Regions from separate parts of the Homo sapiens genome. Here region 2 is linked to region 1. The links are contacts of gene promoters, found by promoter capture Hi-C in human tissues and cell types (Jung and others, 2019). All regions are on one chromosome and are shown on one strand. The core of a region is centred on a gene start or on the middle of the fragment in contact, and the rest is flanking DNA. Distances in the headings are between cores, read along the strand shown. Region 1 holds the start of MFSD6 (major facilitator superfamily domain containing 6). Region 2 overlaps NAB1 (NGFI-A binding protein 1).

What was found. Contacts are between HindIII fragments. The study calls those that stand out against the background at their distance.
Region 2: a contact is called between a fragment that was not itself captured here and the fragment with the promoter of MFSD6 in region 1, in 3 of the 25 tissues and cell types used here (hippocampus, lymphoblastoid cells and pancreas).

What each region holds. Positions count from the first base shown.
Region 1 is chr2:190,406,154-190,412,400 of GRCh38, forward strand. MFSD6 (major facilitator superfamily domain containing 6) reads left to right here and starts at 2,202. Exons shown (of 8, transcript NM_017694.4): 1 at 2,202-2,350. RefSeq lists an enhancer at 1,473-1,522 and a silencer at 1,783-2,822. The HindIII fragment of the contact is 11,189 bases long and covers 1-5,907 here.
Region 2 is chr2:190,663,320-190,669,566 of GRCh38, forward strand. The region is part of intron 4 of NAB1 (NGFI-A binding protein 1); the gene reads left to right. Among named protein-coding and RNA genes, the nearest start is that of NAB1, 17 kb to the left of the region's middle. The HindIII fragment of the contact is 9,138 bases long and covers 1-6,247 here.

The DNA.
Region 1 (6,247 bases), core at 952-3,451:
AAGTTTACGATAACTTGTTACAGCAGCAATAGGTAACTAATACACTGGGCATGGGTATAAGGGTGAAAGGAGCATTGAGAAGAAGGGCCTTGTACAACTGGGTGGATGGCTGTTTGGGACCCCAGAGTCTGGGAACCCAGAAGCAAGAGTGAATGAGGGGCCGGGTGCAGTGGCTCACACCTGTAATCCCAGTACTTTGGGAGGCTGAAGTGGGGGGATCATTTGAGGTCAGGAGTTTGAGACCAGCTTGGCCAACACGGTGAGACCCCATCTCTACTAAAAATACAAAAATTAGCCAGACATGGTGGCACATGCCTGTAATCCCAGCTATTCAGGAGGCTGAGGTAGGAGAATCACTTGAACCCGGGAGGCAGAGGTTGCAGTGAGCTGAGATCACGCCACTGCAATCCGGCCTGGGCGACAGAGTGAGACTCCATCTTAAAAAAAAAAAACGAGTAGGGGAAGAACAGAAGGTAAAGAAACATTGACGTGGCACTTAGTGAGGTTGGGGTGCCTGTGACACATCCCACTGGACAACTGGCCATAAGGATCTGGCCCTCAGGAGAAAAGCTGACCCCGAGAGAGGGCTTTTGGAGCACCCTCAAATATTCTGTGATTGAAGCCAAGGAGTGAGAGAATTCGCAGAAACAAACAGAATCAGAAGAAAGGAAAGCCTAGAACAAAACCCAAGGAAAACTAAAACTCAAGTGGAGCAAAGGGGAGTGGCCAGAGAGGAAGAGGAAAACCCAAGACTTGTGGGTCACAGAAGGCAGAGGAGGGGAGAGTTTCAAGGAGGAAAATCCAACACTTACGGAGCACCAAAAGAAGAGAAGGGAAGAGTTTCAAGGAGGGGACCAGTGTCTCGTGTTCCTGACAGGAGAAAGAAATGCCTGGAGAAAGAAATGATTGAATATCTACGTCAATATTGAAAGTGGATTTAGCATGAGGCTACTATAGTTTAAGCTTCAGAGACCCTTCATAAGCTCAGGAAGGGGCCCTAGAAACTTCGTATTTGTAATTGTTTTATTCTTCCTAAAGAGGGACTCAAAATTCAGAAACTTCAGGGCCTATCAAATTCTTACCAGTATGATTTCACGGTTAAGAGCTTAAAGCCTGGAGACAAAAGAAGCCTGCTTTCCCTTTCGCTGTTTAGTAACTTTGGATGGGTCACATTAACTTTCAGCCTCGGCTTTCCTCAGTTGTAAAATGGGAATAACGTTTCCTACACCTATAGGGTTATAAGGCTCAAAGAGTACCTACACAGTGCCCCGTACATAATCGATGTTTATAAGCGTTAGCTACCATTGTCACTCTTGTCGTTGTTGCCGTTAGCTACCATTGTCACTCTTGTCGTTGTTGCCAGAACAAGACAATAAACTCCTTAAGAACAGGATGTGGCATCCCCCAAAGCCCATCACAGGCACACAGACATACTTGCCAAGTGAATACTCCACTCTCCCCCAACTCTCTGCGTGTTTAACTAGAAATACAACTTTAATTATATTCTTAGTGCGACACACACGGTTGGCTTTTCAGCAAGATGCCAGTAGCAGCTTCCTGAAAAAGGGTGCCTTCGTCTCAGTGTTCCCCCTTCTTGGTGAGCCCCGAAACTCACAGATCGTTTGTCTCCCGCACCCCGCCGGCTCCTCCCTCCCGGGTCAACCTGGGACAGACGCGGAGATAACGCACTGACAGCATTAGCATTGTGTGTGCCACTTAAAAGGCGCTCAAGGAATAAGGGATGTTAGTACATTTTCCCCCACATTTCCTGGCCCGCACTCATTGCCTGGGGGCTCAGCGGAAGTCGCTTGGGGGTGCGGGGGGGTGGAGGGTGCGGTAGGGATGGAGCCTCGCCCAGTGCTTTCGCCTCCTCAGCGTGCTCCCCGGGCCCGGCTGGGTTCAGGTGTCCCTCCGGGCCGCCGGGGCGGGCTGGAGGCCGGGAGCGGGCAGTCGACGCATCCGCCGCCGCCGCAGGAGGCGGAGCGCTGCACCTGGCGGCCGGTCCTCAGCGCCCGGCCCTGAAACGGGTCCAGCCGGTAGTGACCGGCGGCGGCGACTGTGAGGCCGGGGCCGGGGAGGAGGAGGAGCCGCAGCGGGAGAGAAGGTCGCGCCGGCGGGAGCGCTGGGCCCTCCGCCTCCGTCCTCCGTGGCCCCACCCGGTCCGCATCCCTCGCCTCGCCTCGCCGCGCCCCGCCCAGCCCGTCGCAGCCCCGGAGGAGCGCGCGAGCAGCCCGGGATGGTGCGCGCTGCCCCGACAGCCGCCGCCCCGGCGCCCCGAGCCGCCGCCCCGTGCTCCGGGGACAGGGCTCCCCGCGCCCCGCGCAGCTGAGCGCTGCCGCCGCCGCAGCAGGTGAGTCGGGCCCGGCTTGCGGAGAAGGGGCTCGCAGACCCGCCCTGGCCTCCCCCGCCCCGCACGGGCCCAGCCGGAGGGCGGGTAGGCACCTCAGCCGCGCACACCTGCTGCCGGGAAAGGGGCTTCGGGGCCGGGGCTCGGAGCCCAGCGTGCGCCGCTGTCTCCGCTCGGGCCTCGCTCGCCCGCCGCTCCCTCCCTCCCTCCCTCCCCCGGCTTCCGTGTCGGGTGTCATCTTTGTGGGGTGCTGGGGGAGGCTGCCGCCTGCGCCCCCAGCGCGCCCCGTGCTGGCAGCACTTCCGCAAACGTAACTGGAGTCGGGAAAACAAAGGCGCTGCCCAGGGAGCCCTCGCCGGGCGCCCACAGCTGCTGCCGCGGGTGGGGACGGAGGGTGAGCGCCGATGCCCGGGTCCTCCTCCGCCCGGGCCGACCCGCGCCCTCGCCATAAACATCCCTGGGAAAAAGGAGGAGGTGAGAACCTCCACACAGCCCCAGTGACAAGGACGCGGCCACTTGTGTGGCAGGAGGAGGAAATTGACAACGTCTGCCCTCCCAGGTTAATAAATACGGAAAAAAAAATACCTCTGCTCTGCCAGCCACCATCCTAGCAGACATCCCCCACCTCGTGCTTTACTTCCACTTGGTCTAACATGTCTCTGGAGCCCTTTTGAGATACTACTGGGGGTTGCTAGTCTTTCTGGGTCATATTTATTGCCCATAGAGCAATTTTCCTGCAAATTTAGGTAAGATGGTGGAAAAATACAAACGCAACTTTCCCCCTCGTTAATCCCATCCCCACATGGACAGACAGGTGGGTTAATTACCTTTATGCATTCGCAACCACGGACGTTTCTTTTCATCCCAAAAAGATTGAATAAGCACCTCACAGAACTACTGGAACATATAATACCTTGCTTATTAGTGTGCAAAAGACTTAAAGAGTTGGGGTTCTAATCCCAACTGGTATTTAAATAGATGTGTGTGCTTGGGCATGTCACATCTTCCTGAGCCCCAGTTTTCTCACATGGAAAAGAGGATGGTTGGATATTATAGTGGCCAAAATTTCCCCTAATCCTTCTAGAAGTCCATGATTTTCTAGAAATCTAACCTCTTAAGTATAGATGAATGTGAAGGGTGGGTGGACATACAGTTGACTAAAATATGTAATAAAAGGAGATGTGTACTTGGTAGGTCCTTTCCCCAAGATGTGGGCACTAGCCAGCTAAAAGTGTATGCATCTGTTTTAGCCTTGTTAAGTAAAAGGATAGGATCCTCCTCTTTGGGAAGCTTGGCTTTTGACACGTCAAGCTGCTAGCAGAGGTGCAGGATATGGTCAGCTGTTTAGTGATAGTCAGATGGCTTGTATTTATCACGAGGTGTAAGTAAAATTTAGGATTGCTTAGGGGAAGGATGGGACATTGTTAATGAGCCCAGTGCAGGATGCTCTGGGGAAACAGGAGGAGAGAACATCACTTCAATAATGCATTAAAGCTACTAAGTAGTTGTGTGTCCTTCATGTTTACAGCAGTTTATTTCTAAGGCACTTTCCATCTCTATACAAATAAATATAAAAGCGTGAAGGCAAATAAAACACAAAGACAAAAAGCAGAGTTCACAGGTATTTGGTGGTGTGAGTATTGGATCACCAATTCCATCATATATAGTGTCTGGACTATTAACAGTATTAAGGCATTTTTTTGGGTACTTATTATGTTCAAGACACCATTGTAAACATTTAGTATCTCAATCTCTGTAAGATAAATCTTTCCCCTAGTTCTGTGCATGACAAAAAGGAAGCTCAGAAGGGTTAAGCAACTTACACAAACCACATAATCAGTAAGAGGTAGAGTTAAATTTGACCTCATGTTTCTGGCTCCAAAGCCCAGGAAATTTCCACATGGTGTCCCTCCCTAATCAGAACCTATTAAGTCTCTCCACCTACGCAGATGTCTTCCTTAGCTTCGTGCCTTTGAAAATTAACTTGATTTCAATGTACATGTATTACTTATGTTAACATTTAGCCATGTAGGATAATTTATATATTTATTACGTATGTATATTAATGTGTGTATGTTTACCCTTTTGTCCTCACCAGTTGTAGATTGAAGGCAGTATGAAGCTGACAGGTTTCTTTGTTTTACTTCCTTTGACAGCAAATCTTAATTTGGCAATCTCATTATAGGGAAAGGAAGAAATGCAAAAAATGTGTGTCTGCTAGCTATTTTGCACATTGGCTGAAAAATCAAGATGCTGTATATTAAATGAAAAAAATGGCTGGGCAAGGTGGCTCATGCCTGTAATCCCAGCACTTTGGGAGGCCGAGGCAGGTGGATCACGAAGTCAGGAGTTCAAGACCAGCCTGGCCAAGATGGTGAAATCCCACCTGTAATAAAAATACAAAAATTAGCTGAGCGTGGTGGCGGGCGCCTGGAATCCCAGCTACTCAGGGGGCTGAGGTAGAGAATTGCTTGAATCCGGGAGGTGGAGGTTGCAGTGAGCCGAGATCGCGCCACTGCACTCCAGCCTGGGCAACAGAGCGAGACTCTATCTCAAAAAAAAGAAAAAAAAAAACTAGCTTCAGAAGAAATTTATATACATTTGTTTAAACCTGCATACAGGCACACATACGCCTTTTTGTCCCCAAACTGTTGACAGTAGTTTTTTTTTTTTTTTTTCAGACAGAGTCTCGCTCTGTCACCAGGCTGGAGTGCAGTGGCTCGATCTCGGCCTACTGCAACCTCTGCCTCCTGGGTTCAAACTATTCTCCTGCCTCAGCCTCCCGAGTAGCTGGGATTACAGGCACATGCCACCAGGCTCAGCTAATTTTTATTTTTTTAGTAGAGACGGGGTTTCATCATGTTGGCCAGGATGGTCTCCATCTCCTGACCTCATGATTCCCCTGCCTAGGCCTCCCAAAGTGCTGGGATTACAGGCATGAGCCACTGCGCCCAGCCGACAGTGGCTATCTTCAGGAAGTGAGACAAGATGGAGAAAAGAGGATGTTTTTGCTTTTTACCTTATAAAGTTATGTTTGGGCTTAAAATTTTGTTTTTGGAACAAGCATGTGTTCTCTTATTATATAAACTAAAAAGGAAAACAAAAGAAGACTAGAATTAATTGATTTTATAACAATCCAAAGTAAGATAAAATTGAATGTGCCTAAACTCTAATGTTAGGGAAGTGAAATGAGACTCAGGAGATCAAAGTGAAAGGTGGCATACTGAGAATTGGGGGGCAAAGGGTAAAGAGTCTCAGGTGACTGGCTTTTACTTTTTCTAATAGTAACTGTAGCATATTCTACAACTCCTCAGTTTTCCTCCTCAATAAGAATGCTTTGGAGCATACACAATTTATCTGCTTGATTAGGGGTGATAAGAATTTCTTTCTTCCTGGTCTTGCTAGTGGTGGCTGTCTTTGGAAGCATGATTGTTCTGTACAGAACAATCTGGTAGAAGGTAGGAGTTGGAGAAACCAATTTACCTGCTGTGTCATCTCATGAAATTATGGCATTCTGGATGACTTTAGGTATAATTATTTTTAGTAACAATTTAGGAGAAGCAAGTTATCATAAAGTTAAACTAATCTGATGCATATGTACTTGTTAAATACAGTCCCATAGTTCTATCCAATTCTATGTAAAATTAACTAAAACCACTGCTTAGAATCCTTAAAAATTAATACATTTCCAGACTTAGAAATCCAGAGCCATAATACATTCAGACTTTTCAGAATCAAGAAAACACATGCTTAAACTTGGTTAATTATCATTGTGGTAGTAGGTAATCTTGAGAAAGAGGGAATTGTAAAAGTATTTTACAGAAGAGATATTCTCACAATTTTAGGTATTATCCAACATTTCATTTTGGGTTCTAATTATGTTTTAGGCAGAAGGAAATC
Region 2 (6,247 bases), core at 1,279-3,778, 260 kb after region 1:
TCTCCTTAGCTCCTGACCAACCTTGCCAAAGGTTTGCCAATTTTATTCTTTTTTAGAGATCTGCAAACTAGGGTCTGTGTGCCCAGTCTCACTCACCTCCTGTTTTTATAAATAAATTTTTATTGGCACACAGCTGGGCCTATTTATTTATGTACTGTTTGTGGCTGATTTTGAGCTACAATGGTGAGTTAAGTAGTTGTGACACAGGCTGTTTGGCCCGTAAAGCCTAAAATATTTACTCTCTGGCCTTTTACAGAAAAAGCTTGCCAACCTCTGATCTTTTTGAAGAAGCCACTCTGGGCTTAGTTGCTATTCTTGCTTGTGCTGTACACGTGTATATATTTGTCTCCTCTCTTAGTTATTTTATTGTTCTTATCTAACTTAATTTGGGTGCTTAGTTCATTAATTTTTAGTCATTCTTTTTCTAATATGAGCAATTAAAGTATAAATTTTCACTATGTATTGATTCAGTGTTATTCCCAAAGTTTTGTTATGAGGTTATTTTATTATTTTTCAATTTTAATTATTTTTATGATTTCTGACCATGTGTTATTTAAAAGTGTTTCTTTATTTCCAAATATGAGTAATTTTTTTTCCTTATTTTTCCTAATGATTTCTGACTTAATTACATTGAGGGCAAGAGAACATGGTTTGTGTGATGCCAACCCTTTAAAATTTGTTGAGAGTTTAGTTATGATTCATTTTGTGGTCTGTGTTTTTTACGTTTGGAAACGATATCTTAAGCAGTTGTTAGTAGAGTGTTCTATATGTGTCTGTTCTAACAAGCTTATTAATTCTGTCATTCAAATCTTATATTCTTAACTATTATTTTGTCTGCTTGCTCTGTCAGTAAAAAGAGTTGTGTACTAAAATTTTACTGATTGTAGTGTTGTCTGTTTCTCTTTGTATTACGCAGTAATCTTATTAACCTTTAATAATGTATTTTGCTTTAGAAAGCTATTTTCTTTAATGTTGATATAAATACATGAGCTCTCTTTTTGTTAGTCATTGCCTATTACATCTTTATATCTTTTTTTTTTTTGGAGACAGGGTTCACTTTGTCACCCTAGCTGGAATGCAGTGGTGAGATCACAGCTTACTGTATCCTCGACCTCCCAGGCTTAGGTGATTCTCCCACTCAGCCTCCTGGGTAGCTGGGACCACAGGCATGTGCCACCACACCTAGCTAATTTCTTTCTTTTCTTTTTTCCTTCCTTCCTTCCTTCCTTCCTTCCTTCCTTTCTTCCTCTCTTTCTTTCTTCTTTCCTTTTTTTTTTTTTTTTTTTTTTTTTTTTGTAGGGACAGGGTTTCCACGTTGCCCAGGCTGGTCTCAAACTCCTGGGCTCAAGCGATCTATCTGCTTCAGCCTCCCCAAGTGTTGGGATTACAGACGTGAGCCACCACACCTGGTCTATTCCTTATTATATCTTTATATCATCCTTTTATTTTCAGCCTTTCTGAATCCATGTTTTATATATATCTTTTATAAATACTGATCAGTTGGATTTTAAAGAACCCAGTCAGACATGCTTTGTTTTTTAACTGGAATATTTGGTCCATGTACATTTATTATATGACTAATATTTTGGATTTTTTTCCATTATTTTATTTGTATCTCCCCTCTAGCCCTGATATACTTTCTGTACAGATTTATCATCTGGGATTAGCTTCCTTCTATCGAAAGCTCTTTTAGGATTTTCTTAATGAAGGCCTACTGGTGGCAAACTCTGTCCTTCCCTACCTACTGGAAAATATCTTTATTTTGCCCTCATTTTTAATTACTATTTATTTGGGGTATTAAATTCTATAATGTTAGTGGTTTTCCCTTAGTAATTAAAGATACCTTTGTGTAAATTAGCGGGGCGTGGTGGCGGGCACCTGTAGTCCTAGCTACTCGGGAGGCTGAGGCAGGAGAATGGCGTGAACCTGGGAGGCGGAGCTTGCAGTGAGCCAAGATCATGCCACTGCACTCCAGCCTGGGCGACAGAGCAAGACTCCATCTCAAAAAAAAAAAAAAAGTTAGTGGTTATTCTGCTATTTATTGTGTACTTTTAAAATCTTGTTTCTGTCCAATTCTCCTCTCCTGATTCTCAAGTTTCGTGGTTATTTTTACTGTACTGCTTTTTAGTCGTATTTTCAAATCCCTTTGTTTCTTCAAATGAAGTCTTTGAGGGTCTGATTTTGCTGTCTGTTGTTTCTACTAGTGTTCACTTTTGTTGCCTTGTTTCTTTTGATGTTTTATGATTTATGTGAATTCATATTTCTTGGAACTTTAACTGTGAGAACATTTGGAGTCCCGGGAAGAAAGTGAATTCCCTAGAGGTTATTTGCTTTTTCTTTTTACTGGGCATCTGGGGACATTACAAATCTAAGACCCTATGAAAATAAATTCTCAGCCCACTTAGTGTGAATTATGGTTGATTGGGGGTTATGAAATCTTAAGAGAGTATCTTCTGTTCTCTCCCAGTCATTACTAGGGTTCAAGACAGATAATTTTCTTTGCATTCTCCTGGGGGTACAGACGTATTTCTAATTCAGCCTTACATTGGGTGTGTGTGGTGAGGTTTCAGCTTTATGGAGGAGGCATCTTAGACTCTTCAATTCTGATGGGCTGTGGGCTTTGCCTCTTTTTTCCTTCCCATTCTCCTCAACCCCATGAGGCCATGAAGATTGAAACTCAAGCTCATCAAGTTTAGCGACTGTCCCTAACTTAAACTTCTTTGAGGTACTGTACTCATTAATTTTGGCCTCAATGTCCTTATTCTCATCAGCTCATTGAGCATTTAAAAGATGATCCCCTCCCTATTTTATTTAACATTTTTAGTTTTTTTTTTCTGAGAGGGGCCAGTAATGGTACCTAGCCCTCCCAGTGCTGGAAATGAAAGTCCTGATTGCCTTTTGAGCCTCCCTATCACACAGTTGTTCACAGTGTTTTTGTGCCAACAGTACTTAAAGTCACAATCATTTAATTGTTGGAGATTATAATTTTAACAACCTGTAAAGAAAGTTTTTTTAGGAATCAGTAAACCACTCTTCTTAAGGATAAAGATAACTGTAGTAAGTCCAGTTTTTAAGTCCGGTTATAAAAGATAGCTAACTTTAAGAGGCCGGGCATGGTGGCTCACGCCTGTAATCCCAGCACTTTGGGAGGCCAAGGTGGGTGGATTGCTTGAGGTCAGGAGTTCGAGACCAGCCTGGCCAACATGATGAAACCCCGTCTGTACTAAAAATACAAAAAAATTGGCTGGGCATGGTGGCACATGCCTGTAGTCCCAGTAACTTGGGAGGCTGAGACAGGAGAATCGCTTGAACCCGGGGCGCTGAGGTTGCGCCACTGCATTCCAGCCTGGGAGACAGAGTGAGACTCCATCTCAAAAAAAAAAGAAAAAGGAAGCGAACTTTAAGAAATCTTTCACATAAAGATATGGTGGAATTTTGGTATTTTGGGCCACAAAAAGAGGAAATGGAGGAAATAAGTAAACCAGTAAGGGAGAATATCTTGTTACTTTATCCTTTTAACAAAATTAGAGTATTGGCATTCAGAAAAAGCTAACAGTGCTGCTGCAAGTGACGGGAATATTTTCATATTTTCCCAACTGCTTGGGAATATTTTCATTTTTCTTTTGTAATTATATCATGATAGTTATTGATGTGTTCATTATTAGCAGCTAGGGAGCATGAAATCTAGGTAACTCTGACAGAACACGTGTTTTTAAGGGAGAGGCTTCATGAATCAGCTTTTTATTACAACTTGGGGGTGAGCTAGAGTTACTTCTCCAGCCTCAGTTTTTTACCAGGTTCCCTGAGGGCCTGGAGTTTAGTCTACTTTTTTGGTTTGTGGGAGCCTGAATTCAGTGACAATGAATGCATTATGTTTATTTTTCTTGGTTTCTGGAAAGGTAAGAGAAGGAATACTAGAATATTGTTTTCAGTTTATGTTGAAAAGTTATTTTCTGTGTTTGTGCATAAGCTAGTACCTCTGAAATGTTGTCAGTTAAAACATCTTACTGAAAATCAGAGGTTTCCTTAGTAATTTAGATTTATTAATATGAAAAATAAATCGCTACATAAAAAGCTATTTGAGAATCCTCTTCAAGGTCATTTAGCTACTGCCATGCTGAAACTGATTTATTTTGAATATCATTATTTAAAGTATACATTTCACTTTTAACTCCAATAACATTGTGCCTTTCAAAGGCACTTAGGGGAGGAATTTATCTATTGATGACTCTTTAGGAGGAGTGGAGAAGGCTGAAAATAAATTCTTCCTTCAATTATGCTTTCATATTCAGCTATGGGTTTAAAATAGGAGACCTGGGTTTATTATTATAACTTGCTGTCAGTGGCCAAATTAATTGTCTCAGAACAAATTAATATAAATTACAGTTATAAATTTGGGGAGGAGGATGTTAAATATCTATATCATACCATGTACCATAACACATTCTAGATGGTTTAAATACTTAGGTGGGAAAAGTAAAACGATTAGACTAAATTATGGAACATTTATATATTATTAGAGTAGGAAGAGATTTTCTTTGCCTGTCACCCAAGGCATAGAAACTGTATGGCTAATGACAAACTTAAAAAAAAATCCCATTACATATGATGAAGAGTTAATGCTGTTAATAAAGAATTCCTGAAGTTCTAAGAACATGAAACATTGTAATGAGTCAAAGATGTAAGAAAAACCTTTAGTTTCATAGTCAAAGGGATGCAAATTACAACCAAATGCTGTTTTAGAAATATAAAATTGGTAAAGTTTTAAAAAGATAATAACTAGTGTTGGTCAAGATTGTAGGAAATGGACTCATCATGTAATTATTGACAGCATTATGATTTAGAGAAACTTTTCTGAGGGTAGTTAGGTGGAATGTATAAATTTCTTAAAATTTTAGTATACCCTGTGACCTAACTGGTCTATTTGTAGGAATTTATTGCAAAGAAATAATTGGATATGTGTGCAAAGGTACACATTTAAGAATCTCTTATGCAGCTTTTTTTTAAATAGTCTATGGAAAACTGGAGGTAGTTTGATGTCCAGAGTGAAGGTAGTTTAAATAATATATGGTTGTTTTCTACAATGGAATATTGTATGTGTGGGTAGTAAAAGTGATATTATAAAGGATTTTTCAATTCATTCGTCAGTCAACAGATATATATTGAACTTCCAGCCCATGCCAGATGCTAATGTAAACAAGCCACGTCTCTGCCTTAATACATCGGTAGAAATGAAAAATATAGCATATGTAACTGAAAAAAGTAGATTACAAATTTGTATGTACATATATACTTAATGTTTATATGTACACTGAAATATTGGAATAATGTATATTAGAATATTGTCATTCTGGATGGAATGATTGCATGCTATTTATTTTTGTTTTCAAAAATTTTAAGTAAGAAAAATTATTCTAAATAAAGATGAGATGCCTGGGTAGGGAGAAAGGGTGACTACAGTAGTCCCCTCTTATCTGTGAGGGACACATTCCAAGACCCCCAGTTGGATGCCTGAAACTGCAAATGGTACCAAACCTTATATATACTGTTCGTCCCTATACATGCATACCTATGATAAAGTTTAACTTATAAATTAGGCACAGCAAGAGATTAACAACAATAACTATTAATAATAATAAAGTAGGACAATTAGAACAATATGCCAGCATTACTGCTCTTGCACTTTGGGGCCATTGTTGAGTCAAATAAGGGTAACTGGAATATGAGCACTGAGATATCAGAAGAGTCCATCTGTTGACTGAGATGGCCACCAAGTGACTGACAGCCAGGAGTATAGACAGTGTAGATACACTGGACAAAGGGATGATTCATCACTTGGATGAGACAGAGTGAGATGGCACACAGTTTAAAACTTATGAATTGTTTATTTGTATAATTTTTCATTTAATATTTTTGGGTCCCAGTTGACCACAGGTAACTGAAACCTCAGACAGCAAAACTGTGGGTAAGGGGGTACTGCCGTACCTGATTTCTTATGAAAAGAAAACAAGAATTAACACTAACCACAACCTTATGCCAGGTGTGTCTCCTCATCTACATCTTGTTAGAGCCTTTTGGGATAGTGATATTATCCCATTTTGCCTCTCAGAATACCAAGTACCAAGCCTCTCAAAAGTTTTGCATGTCCAGAGTCACAGCTGGTAAATGATGAAGCAGGACTCTCCTCAGGTCTGTCTGCCATCACGTCCCATTTTCTTTTTGCTAATCATCATGCCTTGGCTAAGTA